Regions from separate parts of the Homo sapiens genome. Here regions 1 and 3 are each linked to region 2. The links are contacts of gene promoters, found by promoter capture Hi-C in blood cells and fetal thymus (Javierre and others, 2016). All regions are on one chromosome and are shown on one strand. The core of a region is centred on a gene start or on the middle of the fragment in contact, and the rest is flanking DNA. Distances in the headings are between cores, read along the strand shown. Region 1 overlaps FBXL4 (F-box and leucine rich repeat protein 4). Region 2 holds the start of UFL1-AS1 (UFL1 antisense RNA 1). Region 3 overlaps USP45 (ubiquitin specific peptidase 45).

Region 1 (2,814 bases), core at 282-2,781, 2.4 Mb before region 2:
TGTACCTTGTTTCACACAGTAGTATATGTTGGATCTTTTCTTGTAAGTACAAAGAGAGCTTCCTCATTCTTTCCTGCATTTGCAAGTAATGCATAGTGTGTATGAACCCCAACTTATTAACTAGTCCCCCATTGATGGGCACTTAGTTGTTTCTAGTCTTTTGCTCTTATAAACATTAATGCAGGGAATGACCTTATCATAAGTCACTTTGCATGTGTGCAAGTATATCTGTGGGATAAATTTCCTAGAAGAAGGCTACTCAACCAAGGATAATTTGATAATTTTGTAATGTTTAACATTTTTTTTTTGCATTTTAACAATTTATTCTTAGTTACATTTAATTTTAATTTTTAACAGTTGTAATTTTCATATGTAATGCCAAATTTCTCTCCAAAGAGTCTGTACTATTTATATTCCCACTAGCAGGGCATGTACATGGGTGTTTTGCCAAAGCCTCGCCTACAGAGTATGTTTATAAATTTCAATATTTTTGCAATTTAATAGGTGAAAAATGTTATCTCATGTTAACTGTTAAAATTCTTTTATTATCTCTGAGGTTGAAATCTTTTCATATGTTTAAAAGCCATTTATATTTCTTTTTCCTTTAACTATCTGATCATATTATTTGCTCATTTTTTCTATTACTCATGGATCTTAGCAGTTTCTAGGACTTCATATCACTTTATTAAATCACTCGTTCATTAAATATTTTAGTGCCTACCTAATGTGCTAGGTGTTGTTCTAGGTATTAGAGATGTGTCAGCGAGCAGTGAACAAAATAAATAAAAATTCCCGCTCTCATTCTAGCCTGAGAGCAGATCAGGGCACCTGTTCAACTGTAGGGATGGCCAGCTGCCAGTGCAGGAGGAGGCGGGCAGAGGTCAGCTGCTACCTCCGTAACATGCAGCTCCTCTGATATCTCTGTCCCCTCATCTCTAAGGGAATACTTCCAGGGCCTGCCAGAAAACATACAGAGTACAGCTCAACTTGGAGATTGCTGGTATAATCTTTACTTTTTTTTCCAGAACTACCTAATAATTCATTGCAAATAATGTTATTAGTCGTTTTTTAAACTCAGAAAGCCAGCATACCTTAATTAAAATCAGATTTTTGTTTTCTCCCTAAGAGGAAAAAATGGAGTAGGATCTTTTGTTTTGTTTTGAGACAGGGTCTCACTCTGTCGCCCAGGCTGGAGTGTAGTGGCACGATCTTGGCTCACTGCAACCTCTGCCTCTCGGGTTAATGAGATTCTCCTGCCTCAGCCACCTGAGCGGCTGGGATTACAGGTGCGTGCCACCATGCCTGGCTAATTTTTGTATTTTTAATAGAGATGGGGTTTCACCAGGTTGGGCAGGCTGGTCTCGAACTCTTGACCTCAGGTGATCCGCCTGCCTCGGCCTCCCAAAGTGCTGGAATTACAGATGGGAGCCACTGTGCATGGCAGGATCTTTTCTTATATGAGAATTGTTTTATTAGGACTCTGACATTCTTCTTACAAAGTTACCTACTTTTTTCCAAAAATCTGAAAAGATTTAGGGAGGAGATCAATGGAACATGTAATGTGTTTTCTCCAGTCTAAAACTTAACAGCTGCATAACTAATTTTAAGTACAAATCATGCTCTTGGGTTACTGAGAGTTACTGGTATATGGTTGTGATTAAAGTTAAAACTTTATTTATACCTGTATCTCTAATTTTCTTTACTGATTTTCAGCTTTAGTCTACTGAAAATACCATTACATTTTAAGAGAAAAAAAGGTGACCAATATATTATTAAGATATAAGAAAAAGCCTTTTTAAATTTTACTGATTATGAAATCAATAGATGTTTCATTGTTTAAAAATAATCTAGAAAATACCAAAAAAAAAGGAAAATATATATGAAAAAAATCTGTAATTCTTCTGCCCAGATTCAGTAACTGTTAACATTTGGGTGAATTTTTTATACAATCAGAAACATTTATTGAACACCCTCTCTGCCAGTTCACTGCTAGGAACCAAGTAGAGAGTCAGACAGAGATGGCTCTTTTTTGAGCTTACAGGCCAGCCTAGAAGAGGACCATGAGGAACATGTATTGGCAGAGGGGAGAACCTAATCTGTGGGCTCAGAGAAGGCTTCCCTGGGGAAGTGACTTACCTGGGACCTGAGGGTTGAGTGAGGCTCCAGTGTGGATAGGAAAGGAGGAGAGACAACAGCACATTTGAACGTGAGATCATGAGCTAAGATCATGGTGTTTGAAGAAGTGAGAAAAGTCCAAGAATGCAGAGAATAAGCTGTTGGCAACTGGAGACATGGGAGTAACATTCTTAAGATCTAAACTAGGGGTTTCTAGACTTTGGGATTTTATAGATTTTTTTGGATCCAGCTTCCCAGAAGAATATCTTGAGGTGACTATTCCTGTGCAATTTTTATGGAAATTTTTGTGGAAATTTTTTTATGAAGATACTCTAGGAGAAGCTAGTAAAGGAGTAGGGAAAGCATGATGGGAAAAATCAAGCAAGGATGCAATATCATGTGAAGTCCCAGTCTGCTGGGAGGCAAAGTTGCTAGAGAGCTGGGCCCTTATACTCCTGCACCAGCCAGACTTTTACCATGGGCTGGAAGGGTGGGAAAGGGGGACTGTCAATCTTCTAGGCACATGTCACTCCCTAGATGAAGCCCAAGGTAGTTCTGTGAAGAAGGTTGTAAGTGTAAACCCTTAGGAGCAAAGCAAGCCCATCTGCAGGGTGGCACATAGAACTGATGAGATGGGGGATGTGCATGTGAATGGAGTTCAGGTGGGAGGAGTCAGTCACAATAAACTAGTAACATAAT
Region 2 (3,036 bases), core at 449-2,948:
TTGAAAACGATATCTTACAATCTATAATTTAGTATGCAATTACATGTTTACGGGTTTTGTTTGTTTGTTTTGCCCCTTCCAAAAATCCAAGAAAAAAAAAAACACTAAAGAATTACCTACCACCTCGGACATGTAGCTCATCTCTCATTTCTTTACTAATTTGGGCTGGAGTAATATATTCCTTTCCATCGAGTGTATGAACTACTTCTAGCTGTTTCTGAGCAATCAATTTATTAACAATCTCAATGCAGTTCCGCTCGGACAACCTGAGGGAAAGAAAAAAAGTTGTTTCAAAAGTCCACTTGAGACATTGGCGCTCAATAAAATTAATACAATGTATGAAAACAGGCTTTTAAAAAGTTTGTTTAGTCACTAACTTCTACATCACAATATCTGTATTTTTCACTAACTGATTCAATAAGTTAAAAAAAAACCTTTCAGAGTAAGTAGGTTTACATATGCTTAAATCATTTATTTAATTGGTACACATCATCCCATCACAAATTTCAAGTCTGTTGTCTCTTACAGGCCTGCTTCCAATCTTCAAATCTGAAGGGAAAATTGAAGACATTTATTTAGGTAGGAAAAAAGAAAAAACAAAACAAAACAAAACAAAAAATGCCCTAATTTCCAGTTTAATCAGAATTTTCTTTTAAATTAAGTGCATAATTGCCTCACTTACACACATGGTCTGCAAGCAGGCAGGGGATGTGGCCTAGTGAAACCATAACTTTTACCCACGTTAGTTACCCATGCAGTTACGAGTTTGCTATCAGTGGTAGAAAATACAGCATAAGGGGATTGCTGTCTTCCGGCTCAAAAGGAATAAAACATCGCAGGTAGGAAGTAGTCAAAGAATAGAAAGGCTTCTATTAGCGTTATTTTTAAAAAGCAGAGTTAGGCTCCTCTGGACACATCCTCCAAAGGTTAGTGGGCTTGTAGAAAATGTCAGTGCCCTGAATAACAGATGGGGTCAGGGGTCTAGCCCTAGGTCTGTTACGAGAGATAAAAGGGCAAGAAGTTTTAAGGATCAACATACTATTTGCCAAGTACTGTACTGGGGGCGGGGGTTAGCCTCTCCTTTCGAGCTCATTCTAGATCAGGAAGTGTATAATAGCCAAGATGTCACAGTGATTTGGTGGTTGGTGGGTGAGGGAGGGTCAAAGAAATGCTCAATAAAGGCAGCTCGAAATCACCGGCCCCGTCCATGGTGGGGCGGGGCGCGCCAGCATTTCGCTGCAGCTGGGCTGGGGGGCTCCAGGGCGTCCTAGGCTGAGGACTTTCCCGCCGAGCCTTGGACTTGGAACTGCGATCCAGGCTCGGGACAGAGGGAGGAGGAGAGAATGGTGACAAGCAGCGAGAAGACCCGGGATGCAGGGCCGCGGGTCTAAAGTCCCAGATACAGGCGTGTCCGCCCACGGCCTAATTTGGGCTCCACAAAGGAGAGGGAGGGTCGGGCACCTCTGCGTGGCCTCGGCGAACTGCGCCCGCTGGAAGTCGGCCGCCAACCGCCTAATCTCTTCCCAGGCGTCCGCCATCACGGCCTGACTCGCAGTAGACGCGGAGGAACTGCAGACACGTCAGCCGACAGGCGGTGGGAGAAGAGAGGCGGAACGGGCCGCGCAGAGGGACAAGAGGCTCCGCCCCCGACGCAGACACACCAAACGCTTGCGCCCGAGGCGCGGGGGGCGGGCGGAAGTGCCGTGGTTGTACCGCGGCGCTGGGGGTTCCTCCCGGCGAGACTGGCGGGGCTGCGGCGGCTAGGAGAGTGGTGCGTAGGTGTTTCTGGGGGGGTCGTGGGCAGGATGCAGGGCTCAGTAAAGTTTAGTGTCAGAACTTTGTTTGCGCTACCCCTAATATTTCCGTAGAGTAATAGTTGTATTAACTACTTTTCTTTTTTCTTCTGTCCTCCATTTGTTTTGGGGGAGGGTGCGGAGGAATAAGCCTGTGTCTAAGATTGGCGCCTCTCTTCTCTAGCTGTTAACTCTGAGCATTCCCTTTTGTATAGGGTATCGTGTTAATTTTTACATGCACCCAGAGCAGTCTGCCTTTTGGAAGATACATGGGAGACCCTACCGAAAGTAATTACTTTTTTTTTACAGAGTGAATAAATTTGCGTGTCATAAAGGCTGTATAATTGCTTTCGTGTCTAGAGTTCTAGAGTCTTTCGTATTTCTCTTATTGCAATGATTAACTTCATCAAATAATGAGGAATATAAACATAAGGTGCATGGCTATCAAGGAAACAGGGAAAGCAAAGAGAACATGTATCCTGCTTCCCTGTTGAGTAGATATTTACTCAGGTGTACCTTTCTTTTTTATATCTTTTTTATATCTTATGAATTGAAAATAAATCATGGGACCCCCAAATCACTAAGCTAAAGGGAAAAGTCATACTGGGAACTGCTTAGGGAATCCTGCCTCCCATTCTATTCAAAGTCACCCCTCTGCTCACTGAGATAAATGCATGTCTGATTGCCTCATTTGGAGAGGCTCATAAGAGAATGCAACTGTCTGTTATCTACCTATGACTTGGAACTTCCTCCCCACTTGGAGTTGCCCCGCTTTTCCAGATCAGACCAATGTTTATCTTACATATATTGATTGCTGCCCCATGTCTCCCTAAAATGTGTAAAACCAAGCTGTGCCCCAGCCACCTTGGGCGCATGTTGTCAGGATCTGTGCCATGTCATGGATGCAAGTTCTTAACTTTGGCTAAATAAACTTTCTGAGTTGATTGTGACCTGTCTCAGATATTTGGAGTTCATGTATCTCACTCTTTACTATTTAAAAAATATTATTCCAGTTAGAAAGAATGAATAATATCAAGTATTTGATAGCACAGCAGGGTGACTAGTTGTCAGAGGCGTTTGAACTAGAGCAACTCCATCTTGAATAGGGGCTGGGTAAAATAAGGCTGAAACCTACTGGGCTGCATTCCCAGGAGGTTAGTCACAGAGTGAGATAGAAGGTCCACAGGCAGGAAAAACAAGTCATAAAGACCTTGCCGATAAAACAGGTTGCAGTAGTGAAGCC
Region 3 (2,930 bases), core at 243-2,742, 3.0 Mb before region 2:
ATCTCCATCCACCGCTTACTGGCTTTGGGACCTCTGCAAGTCACTTCACTTCTCTTTCTCAGTTTCAAGTGTAAAATGCGGAAAATAATAGCAACTTATCTCCTAAGGTGGTTGTGAGGGTTGCGTGGGTTAATATTTGTGAAGTGCTTAGAACTGAGCGTGATACACAGCAAAACCATAAGTGCTGCTCATCTTTTTGAGCTTGGTATATAAAAGGAGATAGTGACCTTTTCTTCTCTTTCCAACCCCCATAAATAATTGCCCAAGAGTAGGAAAAAAGGATTTTTTTTTCTTAAGGATATGGGCTTTTTGCATAGCCTGTTTAAAAACAAAGCTTTCTAAACAACTTAGTTGCACATCCTACTTTAGAGAAAAGACAAGTGTTAAGTGATGGTGACTTGAAAACTGTAAAGTTTATTGTTTGGAAAACCGCATGAGAAAAATGGCCAGAACATATTTGTGCTAAAAAGAGTTAACATAGCAGGCCTTAAGACTGCTATCCTTAGAAAGGACTGCTTGCAATGTTGGTGCTTGTTTGGCATCTGGGAACTTAGATTTTTGGGTTTGTGCTGAACAGTATGTTTTATGCCGAAATTACCAGCTTCTGTAAAAATCCGGGACACCAAGTCTTTAATGGGCTTCCCTGCGCGGAAACTGCTGCATTTTCACTGATGGAGGAAGGATGTGTTTTGTTTGACCCCTCTTGGGAGGGAGACCGCATAAGGAGCCTACACGTGATTCCTCCAGACTCCGCTTGTGTCTTTTTCTATTATGATGAGCCTTTATATCCATACTGCATTGTGTAATAAATGTCAGCCATGAATTCAACTATATGTTGAGTCCCGTGCATCCTATCAAAGCTCTAAATGTGGGGGAGATCACGGAGATCCTCAGCCACAGTTTTGTAAATTTGTATAAAGGTAAGGGATATAAGTGCCGTTTTTTTACGAGGATATATTTCCTAGTGGTACTGGGCTTTTAGTGTAACCATCACCTGAATAATGTACATTGTGTCCATTAAGCAATTTCTCATTCCTCACCCCACTCCCATCCTTCCCAGTCTCCAGTGCCCAGACACAATTTTGATGATAAAAAGTATTGGAAGCTCTAATAATTGGACTTTTAATTTTGCCCTTTTGCCTCAAATGGAAATTGGAAAACTACAGATAAATAATTGCCGAATTCTGGGTTACTGTACCAAATGATTCTGTCTGTTTAGACATTACATATGGCAGAAAAATCATCAGAAATTGCCTCTACATTACCAAGTTAATTTTGAGTCAGTGTTTTTGAAAAAAGGCACAGGTTGCTTACAGTATGTAGGTCAAATGCCTGGTTTTGTTTATTATTTTGCTAGCATTATCTGTGTTAATGCTCATCTTTATCAAGAGCTTATCTGTACCACAGCGAGAAAATATAATCAGTTTCTCATAGGCCATTTTCCCTGTACTTTATTAGTTATACCTATCTCTTTTCAGGACATCAAATTTAAATTGATGGAGGTAGGTTTGCAAATTTGGGGTTAGAAAGATCAAATTTGCCGTCTGCTTATGTCTCTTTTCCCTTATAAAAGACTAGATCAGTTTTTGGTAAGTTAGTTGGGAGTTGGAGGGGTTAGAGGTTTGAGGAAAGTGAAGAAGATTTGAAATGGCTCTGTGGATAGTATGTAAGTTGACCAGAAGGTGAAGTGAATAATAATGGACCTAGTCTGCTTTCTTAAGAGACTTTCTCCCGACATGGAGAAAATGGTTAATTGGGTTCATCTAGGATTGGGTTCTGCGAGAGAGGTGATGTAGTCCTTAAGGCTCTGCACAAGTATTCCGGTTCACCTATTTTTGGGTACATGTAATGCTGCACTCTTTGTACATGGGCAACCCCTCTCCATGTCTGCTTGAAGTTAAATGTGCCATGTGACTTGCTTTAGGAAGCAGCTCTCCATTTGCCATTTCCACTTCTCCCTGCCCTGCTGTAAGGGTCATGGAAGGACTTGTTGAGATGCAGCCTCTTGTCAGCCTGGACACTATAGGAAAATATGAGTGGCTGATCAGGCAAGTTGGAAGAACTGGGAAGTTGCTGTCAGAGAAGGGGATACTTAAATTAGTGATTTTATAAGGTGGAACTGTAGGGGAGAGTAGATGAGGAAGTTTGGAGGGAGAAGGTAGAGATGAAGTGCTCAAGGAACTCAGAGGCTTTTTACATGTTCCTAACCCGGAAGCCCTTAATTTATTGCAACTTAGTTCAGTAGTGATGACCGTTGGACTTAATGGTAAACTTGAAAGCTCCCTTATTGTGAATTATGGAATGAATAAATCAAGATTTGGAATTTAGTACTGAATTGAAAGATTCATTACCTTGATCATTGAGAAGTAAGTCAGCAACCATGAAAATTGCGATGTTGCTTAGCCACCAGGCAGGAGAGTAAAAGGTAGGCCAAGCTACTCTAACAGAGACTCCAAAATATAGTAGTTTTAAAAAATGCTTAGCTTGTATCTAAAATCTTTGATAATTAACTGAATTTTTAATAAATATAAGGGATAGAGGTAAATAACACTATGAAGAAAGAGACAAATTCAGTGTGAGACATTATATAACTTTGCTGTCGAAAGAGTATTCTATGGGCCCCCAGCAGTGGCTTCAGTTAGAAGCTTTTTAGGTAGGTAGAATCTCAGGTCTTGTGCCAGACTTGTTGCATCAGAACTTTCATTTTAACAAGACCCTCAAGGTGACTCATGCACTGGCCTGATCTCTTTAAAAAGCTAAAGTCTTAGGCAAGTAACAGGTTGGAAGAACTGTTCTGTTAATAGATTAAAAGATACTAAAGAGACATAACCAATATCAAGTGCAAACCTTGATTGAATCTTTTTCAAAAAACCAGCTATAGAAGACAATTTAGGGTCAACTAAGGAAATTAGAATATGATGGAATATGAG

The links. The method cuts DNA at HindIII sites, captures the fragments that hold promoters and counts their contacts. A CHiCAGO score of 5 or more calls a contact.
Region 1: a fragment that was not itself captured here is called in contact with the fragment with the promoter of UFL1-AS1 in region 2 in 1 of 17 cell types (non-activated CD4 T cells); the score reaches 5.6 in non-activated CD4 T cells.
Region 3: a contact is called between a fragment that was not itself captured here and the fragment with the promoter of UFL1-AS1 in region 2, in 1 of 17 cell types (non-activated CD4 T cells). The highest score is 5.8, in non-activated CD4 T cells.

The regions. Positions count from the first base shown.
Region 1 is chr6:98,922,904-98,925,717 of GRCh38, reverse strand. All of the region lies in intron 4 of FBXL4 (F-box and leucine rich repeat protein 4), which reads left to right. Among named protein-coding and RNA genes, the nearest start is that of FBXL4, 24 kb to the left of the region's middle. The HindIII fragment of the contact is 5,637 bases long and covers 1-2,814 here.
Region 2 is chr6:96,520,376-96,523,411 of GRCh38, reverse strand. UFL1-AS1 (UFL1 antisense RNA 1) reads left to right here and starts at 1,698. Exons shown (of 4, transcript XR_007059687.1): 1 at 1,698-3,036. It overlaps UFL1 (UFM1 specific ligase 1), which reads right to left and starts at 1,606. Exons shown (of 19, transcript NM_015323.5): 1 at 1,462-1,606; 2 at 121-266. The coding sequence starts at 1,538. RefSeq lists enhancers at 274-1,145, 1,812-2,001, 1,146-2,017, 2,018-2,889, 2,890-3,036. The HindIII fragment of the contact is 5,811 bases long and covers 1-3,036 here.
Region 3 is chr6:99,512,031-99,514,960 of GRCh38, reverse strand. The region is part of intron 1 of USP45 (ubiquitin specific peptidase 45); the gene reads left to right. Among named protein-coding and RNA genes, the nearest start is that of USP45, 1.9 kb to the left of the region's middle. RefSeq lists an enhancer at 1-530. The HindIII fragment of the contact is 2,311 bases long and covers 337-2,647 here.